Linked DNA regions of Homo sapiens: region 2 is linked to region 1. The links are contacts of gene promoters, found by promoter capture Hi-C in blood cells and fetal thymus (Javierre and others, 2016). All regions are on one chromosome and are shown on one strand. The core of a region is centred on a gene start or on the middle of the fragment in contact, and the rest is flanking DNA. Distances in the headings are between cores, read along the strand shown.

Evidence for each region. The method cuts DNA at HindIII sites, captures the fragments that hold promoters and counts their contacts. A CHiCAGO score of 5 or more calls a contact.
Region 2: a contact is called between a fragment that was not itself captured here and the fragment with the promoter of AMN in region 1, in 1 of 17 cell types (total B cells). The highest score is 5.3, in total B cells.

The regions. Positions count from the first base shown.
Region 1 is chr14:102,919,776-102,925,418 of GRCh38, reverse strand. It overlaps AMN (amnion associated transmembrane protein), which reads right to left and starts at 2,756. Exons shown (of 12, transcript NM_030943.4): 1 at 2,688-2,756; 2 at 1,590-1,708; 3 at 1,440-1,484. The coding sequence starts at 2,730. RefSeq lists silencers at 971-1,169, 2,333-2,532. The HindIII fragment of the contact is 27,416 bases long and covers 319-5,643 here.
Region 2 is chr14:102,697,953-102,703,595 of GRCh38, reverse strand. RCOR1 (REST corepressor 1) reads right to left here. Exons shown (of 12, transcript NM_015156.4): 4 at 2,266-2,318. Among named protein-coding and RNA genes, the nearest start is that of TRAF3, 77 kb to the left of the region's middle. The HindIII fragment of the contact is 4,983 bases long and covers 103-5,085 here.

The sequences.
Region 1 (5,643 bases), core at 1,507-4,006:
CCCTCCCCAGTGTGTGGCAGCTTTTGGGTTAAGGCAGCTTTGGAAAACCTGAAGGAAGGAACCAAGCGGCCCTGGGGTGGAAATGAGGCCCAGGGTCCCTGACCCCGCATGGGGCAGGAATGGGCCAGGCCAAGCCCATTGAGCCATCCTCCCCACCCGCACACGCGGGGGCCCCAGGCCTGGACCCCACATCTGGAGCCGACACCCCGACCCAGCTCACCAGTGACCCTCACTCAGGAGTGACTGAGCTGGCAGGTGTGCAGGTGACAGGATGAGGACGCAGCCCAGGAGTGGCTGTGAAGGGGCTGGAAGGAAGCTTTTGCCCAGAGGCTTGGCCTGCAGGCCCCACAGTCACCCTGGAAGCTGGTGGGCTGCCGATGCAATGGGACAGTGGCCACCGAGGATACTCAACCAAGCGGGCAGGCTGTGTGCCAGTGAAGCTGTATTTACTGTCGCTGAGGTGTGAATGTCATATATTTTTCAAGTGCCACAAAAGATTGTTCTTTTTTTCCCCAACGATTACAAAGTGTAAAAACCGTTCCTTGCTCCACCCGTAGGGGCTGCATTTGGCCTGTAGCTTGCGGAACTCCACCTTAAACAAGGAAATTAGCTTCTTTCTCTGGGGCCTTATCAGAGCCTTTAATACGTGATGAAGCTCCAGGAAAGTGCAGGCTGCAGCATTTCCCAAACTTACCTACTCATGGAACCCGCTTTCCTCCCAGTTCCCATCATGTTCTTGGAGTGTTGTGTGAAGCAGTTTGAGAAAAAGGTCCCCTAGGGCAGCAGTCCCCAACCTTTTTGGCACCAGGGACCAGTTTTGTGGAAGACAGTTCTTCCATGGACTGATGGGAGTGGGGAAGGTTTCAGGATTAAGCTGTCCCATCTCAGATGTCAGCCACTTAAGGAGTGCACACCCACCCAGGCCCCTCGCTGGCGCAGTGACAATAGGGGTCCCTAGGAGAATCTGATCTGATCTGAAGGGAGGCAGAGCCAGGCAGGAGTGGGCTCGCCTCTTCCTGGGCGGCCACTTCCTAACAGGCCAGGGACCCGGATGGTGGGTAGAGGGGGGGGTGTTGGGGACACTTTCCCTAGTGTTCTAAAGATGGAGCTTTAGGCACCAGGACAAGGCAAGGCTTTGGGGGAAGGGCATGGAGCAGGCGCTTCCTGGGAAGACCACCCACTGCTGGGCATCACAAGGGCTGTGGGGACAGGGGTGCCTCCCATCCCTCCCAGGACACAGCCTGGCTGGGACCATGGGACCAAGCTCCCCTAGGTTCCCCCCCACTCCCTGCCTCCTAGAATATTCTCCAGAGGCCAAAGTCCCAGTCCTGCAGTGCCTCCATGCCGGTGGGGTCCGCCCTCAAGGCACAGCAGTCCCTGAAGGCGCTTCAGAGACTCTGTGAACCCCCAGCCCAGTGGCAGTAGCAGCCCGGCCTTACCATGTCTGAGACGGCGTGACCTTCTTGCACCAGGACTGACACCATCTGCAGGAAGAAGCTGCCTCAGCCGAGCCGGGAGCAACCCCCACCGGGGCCACACGGTCTCAGGGGTCCAGGCCCATCACCGACCCCGCCGGCGCTCCCAGGCACCTTGTCCGCCGGGAACTCAACGGCGCCGCCGGCGCACGGGGTCCGGTTCTGGCTCCAGTTGGCTGCGACGTCGAAGTCCGTGTTGGGGACCCAGAGTTTGGAGACCGCCTGGGTCAGTGCTGGGGAGGAGGCGACTGAGTGCCCGGGATGCTCTCCGGGATGCTCCCTTCTCAGGGAAGGCCACCCACCCAGAGAAGTGCGGAAGGTCCGCGCGGATCACCCGGGACGCATAGGAACCCCATCCCCGGGGGCCCGGACCCAGACCCTGGTCCCTCCCGGCCAGACTGTGGGCGCCCTGCCCGGGCGCTCTCCAACGGACTTCTACTGATACCTGCAGAGCCCGCTCAAACGCGCCCTGCAGGACGCCTGCCTAGATAGCCTCCCGGCACTGCCCCCAGTTTGCCTGGCGCTGGAGCAGAGGACAGCGTTGTTAAGGACAGTGACAACTGGGGCATGGAGGAGGATGGGGCAGCACAGACCTCTTCTCGGCCTTGGAATCAGGAAGGCTTCCCGGAGGAGTCCTACCTGGGCCGGGAAGAGCTGCGACAGAGCGCAACCCGGTATGAGAAGTAAGAAGGGGCTGGGGGCGGCAGGACCAGGTCAGGCCGGCCCTGAATGTGGTGGGTGGGGTTGTCCTGAGGGAGCCGCGAGGGGTTTAGGGAAGGGGGCGCCAGGGACACGCGCCGGCCTGGTGTGAAGGCGGAGGAGGGCTCAGTGCTCCCTTGGGGACCGGGAAGCTGAGGCGGTCTGCCGAGCCCCGCAGGCGCACACTCGCTGCTCTCGGCAGGTTCTGGGGACCGCGCCCATTTCGCAGACGGAAAAACCGCGAGGGCAGGAGCCGCCGGAGGCCGGGGCTGGCCGAGGTTCCCGGAGCCCCTCCTCTCCTCTCCCGCACCGCCCGATGCACTGGCCGCGCACTTCCGGGCTGCGCACTCGCCAGACGAGGGAGGCAGGGCCGAGTTTCACGCCCCCAACCCTCCAAAGCCCTCCCTGCCCACTCCTCGGAAGATCTTCACCCTCCAGGCCTAGAGCGACCTCGGCCCTGGGTCCTGACAGACCGCTACCGTCCGGGCCCGCACCGGTGTGGTCCCGGCTCACCGCAGAGCTGCAGCCACAGCAGGACCCGGCCCAGGACGCCCATCTCGCCTCGGCTCCTTGCACCCCACCAGGAGACTTTGCCCCACTGGACCCACGTGACCAGGCAGGTCGGGTGGGGGCACCAGGGTCGGTTACACATTTACCTCCAGACCCGCCCAGGGCCGACTCTTCAGGCCCCTGGGAGGCACCTTCTCAGCCTCCCCTTACCCGCCCCTGCAGGGCCTGAACACCTTAGGTTCTCAGGAAGAAGGGCAAAGAAGAAGGGCTTGGCGAGACTGACCTACCCTGTAAAATGGGTGTCTTGCCGGGAGGGGGAATAAACGACCTTTGAATTCACCCCTTTCTCTGTCCTGTGTGCTGCTAGGGCTGAGCTAGTCTGCTCACCATTGGAACTGGGTGTCCACTTCTCCACGCAGTGCCCCTGTCCCATGGGCTGTGGGTGGTGGTTGGATGATAGAAGGAAGATCCTGGATGGAACATGGTATGTGGATGGTATAGGAGGGTGGATTGTGGATGATGGTGGAGAGTAGTGGATGGTGAGTAGGGGACAGCTGATGGACAGCAACATTGATGGTGCATGGTGTACGGCATATGGACGCATGGCAGATGAATGGTAAATGGTTGACGGGGTGGATGGTGAGTGATAGAGGGTGGATGGGTGATGAATGGATGGATGAGGATGGTGAGTGAAAAATGAATGAATGGCCGGGCGTGGTGGCTCATGCCTGTAATCCCAGCACTTTGGGAGGGTGAGGCAGGCGGATCGCGAGGTCAGGAGATCAAGACCATCCTGGCTAACGCGGTGAAACCCCGTCTATACTAAAAATATACAAAAAAATTAACCGGGCATGGTAGAAGGCGCCTGTAGTCCCAGCTACTTGGGGGGCTGAGGCAGAACGGCGTGAACCCAGGAGGTGGAGCTTGCAGTGAGCCACGATCGTGCGCTGCACTCCAGCCTGAGCGACAGAGCGAGACTCCGTCTCAAAAAAAAAAAAAAAAAAAGGAAAAGGAATGGATGGTAATCAGGGAGTGGTGGATGGATAATGGCATAAATGGATACATGGCCGACAGGTAGATCATAAAGAGTGGGTGTTGGCGGGGCACGGTGGCTCACGCCTGTAACCGCAGCACTTTGGGAGGCCAAGGCGGGCAGATCACCTGAGGTCGGGAGTTCGAGACCAGCCTGACCAACATGGAGAAACCCCATCTCTACTAAAAATACAAAATTAGATAGGCATGGTGGCACATGCCTGTAATCCCAGCTACTTGGGAGGCTAAGGCAGGAGAATCGTTTGAACCTGGAAGGCGGAGGTTGTGGTGATCGGAGATCACGCCACTGTGCTCCAGCCTGGGCAACAAGAGTGAAACCCCATCTCAAAAAAAAAAAAGTGGGTGTTAAATGGTGGATGTTTGGTGAGTGATGAATGCTGAATGGATGGATGGTGGATGGTGAATAGATAGATGGTAAATGGATAGATGGTGGATGATGGTTGCATAAATGGTGAATTGTGGATGGAGATGGACGGTGGATAGTGAATAGATGGTGGATAGTGAATAGACAGTGGATAGTGGATAATGGGTGGATAGTAGATGGTGGATAGGATGATAAATGGATGGGTAATGGATGGTAGATAAGTAGATAATGGATAAATGGTGGATGATGGATGGTAGGTGGATGATGGTTGGTGGGTGGTGGATAATGGACAAGTGAATGGTGATGAGTAGATGGTGAATATTAAGTGGATGGATGGGCGGCAGATGGTAGATAGTGGATGATAGATGGTGGATGGTGGATGGTAAGATGAATAGTGGTTGGTGGATGGTGGGTGGTGGATGGTGGGTGGATGGAAGGATGGGTGGTGAATGAGTGAATGGTGGATGGTGAATAGGTGGATGGTGGATGGTGGATGGTGAATGGCCGATGGTGGATGTGAATGGTGATGGGTGGTGGATGAATGGATGGATGAATGGCGAATGGTGGATGGCAGATTGTGGATAAGTGGATGGTGGATGGATGGATGGTGGATGGGTGAATGGGTGGATGGATGAATGGTGGATGGTAGACAGTGGATGAGGGATGATAGATGAATGGTGGGTGGTGGATGAGTGGATGGCGAATGGGTGAATGGACATATAGATGGGTGGATGGATGGATGGTGGATGGTGGGTGAGTGAATGATGGGTGGATGGTGGATGAAGGGATGGTGGATGGTAGATGGGTGGATGTGTGAATGGGTGGATGGATGAATGGACGCTGGATGAGTGAATTGTGGATGATGGATGAGTGGATGGTGGATATGTGAATGGGTAGAGGGATGGATGGGTAGATGGATGGTGGAGAATGGATGGTGGATGAGTGAATGGTGGATGAATGGATGGTAGGTTGTGGATGGGTGGATGGTGAATGTGTGGATGGATAGATGGTGGATGGATGGATAGTGGGAGTGGATGGTGGATGGATGAATGGTGGATAGATGGATGGTGGATGTATGCATGAATGGACGGTGGATAAATGAATGGTGAATGAATGAGTGGTAGATGGATGGAAGGTGATGGTGGATGGTGAATTGGGATAGATGGGTGGTGCGTTATGAATGGTGGATGATGGATGGTGGATGGATGGAAGGTGATGGTGGATGGTGAATGGGGATAGATGGATGTTGGATGATGGATGGTGGATGGATGGAAGGTGATGGTGGATGGTGAATGGGGATGGATGGTGGATGATGGATGGTAGATGGATGGAAGGTGATGGTGGATGGTGAATGGGGATAGATGGATGGTGGATGATGGATGGGAGATGGATGGAAGGTGATGGTGGATGGTGAATGGGGATAGATGGATGTTGGATGATGGATGGTGGATGGATGGAAGGTGATGGTGGATGGTGAATGGGGATAGATGGATGTTGGATGATGGATGGTGGATGGATGGAAGGTGATGGTGGATGGTGAAT
Region 2 (5,643 bases), core at 1,345-3,844, 220 kb after region 1:
ATAGAATTCTTAGTTGACAGTTTTCTTCTCTTGCTGCTTTGAATATATCAGACCATTGCCTCTGGCTTCCAAAGGTTTTGACAAGAAATACCCTAATAAGCTTATTCAGGATCCCTTATATGTAATAGGTTAGTTCTCTCTTGCTGCTATCAAGATTCTCTGTCTTTTCAAAGTTTCATTATGTGCTCTGGTGAGCCTCTTTGAGTTTATTCTACTTGGAGTTCACTGAGTTTCTTGGATGTTTGTTTATATTCACATCTTTCAACAAATTTGCGAAATTTTTGGCCATTATTTCTTCAAGTAATCTCTCTGTCCCTATCTCTCTTACTCCTTATGCAACTTCCACATGCATATGTTAGTCCACCCGATTGTGTCCCTAGGGTACCTTAGGCTCTGTTCACTCTTCAATCTTTTCTCATCCTGCTGCTCAGACTCAAATCATTTCCACTGTCCTTTCTTCATGTTCTTTGTTGAGACTCTTCCAATCTGCCTTTGAGCACGTCTAGTGAATTTTTCATTTCAAGTGTTTAGGGTCTAGAATTTCATTTTGGTTTCCTTTCAGGTTTTCCATTTCCTTACTGTTATTTCCATTTGTTCATACATCATTTTCTTGATTTTTTCTGTATCTTCCATTAGTTCTTTAAAAACATCTTTAAGATAGTTGTTTTAAAATCTTTGCCTAGTAGATCTGCCACTAAGGTCTTTTCCCAGGGACAGTTTCTGTTGATTAATTTTTTTCTACTGAATGGGCATACTTTACCATTTCTTTGTATGCTCTGTGATTTTTCTGTTAAAACCTGGACATCTGAATCTAATAATGTAGTAAACTCATAATCACACTCTTCCTCAGGGTTTGCTATGTTTTTACTACAGTTTTGTTTTCTTTTGGTTGTAGGCTTGCCTCCATTGTGAGGATCAGCCTGAGTATAAACTGAAGGTCTTCTCTGAGGCACTGCCTTTCCCTGCCTCTGGTCACAGAACCAGCATAGTTCTAGGATCTGTGCTCTTCAAGTATCACACTTTACTGCCTCAATATATAAATGAAAAAAGTAATTTATGAAAGAACAATTGCTGTTATTCTTTTATTTTAAAAATTATATATATTTATATGTTATATATATGATATATAAAGGTCTTCTCAGCTTAGAAAGAAAAAAAGTAGAAATAGAATAAGCAACAAAAGAGGTAAGATGAGATCCAGCAATACTTTGCTAATGGTAATTTTTATGCTGGAATTATAATATAGGAAATTTTCATGCTAATGATCATTTTTAAAGGAGAAATGATCAAGACTACCATCCTTAAGAATTCATACAGGTATATTTTGCAATCAAAAGTAGCTTCAATGACCAGGATAGAGTAATTAAATGTAAGGCCAAGTCCAAAAGAAAGGGTACAATTTCACATAATCTAAACTCTTGGTAACTTCCATCATTCAGAAAAATAAGAAATGTCAGTAACTTCCAGGTTGTAAGATCTAGATTAATGCCATGGAAAGCATTAATCCAACTTGATGTGTTTAAAATAAATCATTAAAGCTGAAATAAGGTATCACCACACTTTTGCAGAAAAATAAATCTTGTGGATTTCTTATTAGTACATTCCAAACAATATTTAAAAGAAAATCTTGGCCAGGCGCAGTGGCTCACGCCTGTAATCCCAACACTTTGGGAGGCCCCTTCTCTACTAAAAATACAAAAATTAGCCAGGCGTGGTGGTGTGCACCTGTAATCTCAGCTACTTGAGAGGCCGAGGCACGAGAATTACGAGAACTACTTGAACCCCGGAGGCAGAGGTTGCAATGAGCTGAGATGCGCCACTGCACTCCAGCCTGGTCACCAGAGCGAGACTCCATCTCAAACTGAAAATGATTCAAAATGGTGAATATTAAAACACTTTAGGTAAGAATGTGAAAACATGCGTCAAAAAACATCATGATACAACCAGAAGAATGACAAACAAATCACATATTCAAATGAGAAAGCATTATGCTCAAGCATCCAGCTCCTTAGTAATCACTAAGTAATCAGTGTCCTAAAGGCTGTAGATCTGCAGATGACAGATATGCCTTTCAAATCAAAGGGTCCTCTAATATTCATCTTGAACAAGAAAAAGAAGACCAGAGTTTGTGTAACACTACTAGTAATTACCAAAAAGTTGCTAATGAAGAAACACTGCTACTCAATACAAAGAAGAAAAAAATATAATTATTTAGTTACAAATACTCATTTTTTAACAGCAAAAGAAAGAAAACCATGATATTACCTGTTCCATGTTGTACCCATGCTTTTCTTTGGCAATGGCAATGTATTCATCCACTGAAAAACAAGAAGAGATGCCATTAAACAAACTGAGGGACAGAGTACACCCTATGGTCTGCTAGAATTGATATACGTGTATATTTCAGGCCTGCTGATATGGTTTGGCTGTGTCCCCACCCAAATCTCATTTTGATTTGTATCTCCCACAATTCCCAAGTGCTGTAGGAGGGACCCAACTGGAGGTAACTGAATCATGGAGGATGGGCTTTCCTGTGCTATTCTCCTGTTAGTAAGTCTCACAAGATCTGATGGTTTTAAAAAGGGGAGTTTCCCTGCACAAGCTCTCTTTGCCTGCCGCCATCCATGTAAAATATGACTTGCTCCTCGCTCCTCCTCGCTTTCTACCATGATTGTAAGGCCTTCCTAGCCATGTGAAACTCTAAGTCCATTAAACCTCTTTTTCTTCCCAGTCTCGGGTATGTCTTTACCAACAGCATAAAAACGGACTAATACACTTGTCCTGTACAAGACTAAAAATAAAGAACACACAGTAACAAAACAGAACCATTATAATAGTTATTGATCCTGCAGAGAAACGTCTGAATGAATATTCTCAAATATTAACAGCAGTATCACCTGGTGATGAGATTATGAGTCTTCTTTAAAAGAGAAAAACAAAGGCTCATGCCTGTAATCCTAACACTTCGGAAAGCTGAGGCGGGAGGATCCCTTGAGGCCAGGAGTTCTAGATTAGCCTGGATAACATAGTGAAATCCTGTCTCTACAAATAATTTTTAAAAATAATTAGTCAGGGCTGGATGCTGCAGCTCATGCCTGTAATCCCAGCATTTTGGGAGGCTAGGGCAGGCGAATCACTTTGAGGTCAGGAGTTCGAGAGCAACCTGACCAACATGGCGAAACCCCATCTCTACTAAAAATACAAAAATTAGCCAGGTGTGGTGGCACATGCCTGTAATCCCAGCTACTTGGGAGGCTGAGGCAGGAGAATCGCTTGAACCCGGGAGGCAGAGGTTGCAGTGAACCAAGATTGCACCACTGCACTCCAGCCTGGTGACAGAGCAAGACTCTGTCTCAAAAAAAGAAAAAGGGAAAAGGAAGACAAAATCTTTAGTTCTACTTAAAACTTTCTACAACAAACAAGTACTACTTTAAACAACATGTCTAGCAGTAAAAAGAAATATGAAATTGGGCGTCATTTTTAGTTTCAGCTCAGGTTGAATAATGAACAAACTATTCTTTATGTTTTAAAAAATTCTTAAGAGATAGATTACGTGACCCAGTGCTTGGTATTTGCTTTCAAATATGTACTACTCCAATATAAGGTGGCTAGCTTTCAAGAACCATGGAAAATACCAAGGAAAATGAATTGACTCAACCTCTAGGAGAAGCTGCCACCCCCAAAGATGAATCAATTTCCTCCCTGAGGATATTCTAGTCTTTCTTCCCAAGTGTACAAGAAAAAATAATGCACTAGTCAATAGCACTGCCATATGTTCATGCATGATTTTCCTTTATGAATTAAAAAAATAACAACAACACAAGCTAAAAAAAAAAAAAATCAAGGAGCATAGAACTGTATGAAGTAGGCAGTAAAATCCTGACTAGCCCCTATTCCCTCTTGGCTCCTAAATCTTACTCTCTAGGTACAATGGCCAAACTTAGAGAAAACAGGCTCAGAGTGATCCACTTTCCCACTATGACACAAAGAGTAAACAGAGGAGTCCTAATAAAAGTCTGAGCTTCTACAACTTAGTTTGCCATGCGATTATACCAAAAGCATGCTCCCAGCTCTGGGAGAACTGTCAACCAATTTAGGAAACAGAAATCAATTTTGAAAAAGAATTCCAACTCTTATAGAAGCATGTATTCTAAAAATTGGGGAAAAATATTCCATTGACAAAAGAAAAAGTCAACCTAATTCAAACAATAACTAATTATATACTGCAGCTCAATATTAATTCTAATACTAAGCCACTAATTTCCGATTTAATATTTAAAATAGTTACAAACTGGTTACTTCACTCAGATTACAGTAAAATTTCAATTTACTTGAAGGTCAGCAAATGACAAATGAAATGACCATAGCTTGTCACAAAAGTATAACTGGTGATTTTAAAAAGCAGGGCAGAGGCCAGGCGCGGTGGCTCACGCCTGTAATCCCAGCATTTCCGGAGGCTAAAGCAGGTGGATCACGAAGTCAAGAGATCAACATCATCCTGGCCAACATGGTGAAACCCCATCTCTACTAAAAATACAAAAATTAGCTGGGCGTGGTGGCGCATGCCTGTAGTTCCAGCTACTTGGGAGGCTGAGGTTGCAGTGAGCCAAGATCGTGCCACTGAACTCCAGCCTTGGTGACAGAGCAAGACTTCATCTCAAAAAAAAAAAGGCAGGGCAGGGAATTACTCCAAAGTGTGTCCCTTGCTTTTTCCTTCACAATACATTAGATTATGCCAAATAAAAGTGCTCTCAGATTCTAAAAAATGTCAGATGAGGCTGCTCGAACAGGTGGTTCTGTATACCTGGCCAGAACCCTGCAGAGAGACACAGGTAATATGGGGGTTCATACTGGAGGAGATGAGATGCAAATGGCAGCATACCAGACCTAGAAACAGACAGCAGGCCAGCTGATTAAAAACCAGGTCATGAGATGCACTCAGGAATATGTAAGGACAGAAGGCGAAAACAATCTGCGGTAAATTGAGGGTCAACTCTGGAGAAGGTCTGCTTGTTTAAAACTGGCTTGAAGGGTTCCTTCCTTTAATAAATACTTGGTGAATGAACAACAAATGAACCTTAAGCTTCTGCTGTAAATCTCAAGTCTCAGAGCACACTATTATCTACCTTAACTGAGTAAGGAATGTATGTATGATCACCAGTAGCACGATCTTTGAGCAAACACATGCACAGGCTGAAAAAGTGATGCAGGAGTCCCTGGAGTGGCCCAGCACAGGGGCTAGTCCTGCCTGTGGTTCTTGGGCATATGTTATCTGCTCAGAGTCCCTCCTGCTACATCAGTAACAAGGCCTGTAATGCCTGTGCCCACTGTCTGCAACCAGATTTAGCTACAAATTTTAAGACACACACAAGCATTTGTTGAATGCTACTCCATTTTCAACTCCTCTTTTGCTTTATATCTTAAGAATCAGCTGGTGACAGGAACAACAAGACAGTAACAGTAGATCCCGAATGCTGCAGCTGAGGTTATATAGGACATCTGCCATATTGTAAACAATAAGGTATTCTTACTAAGGTAACCTTTAAAGTCATGTAACTTTTGGATTTTCTTGGATGGCCGGGTGCGGTGGCTCATGCCAGTAATCCCAGCACTTTGGGAGGCTGAGGCAAGAGGATCACTTGA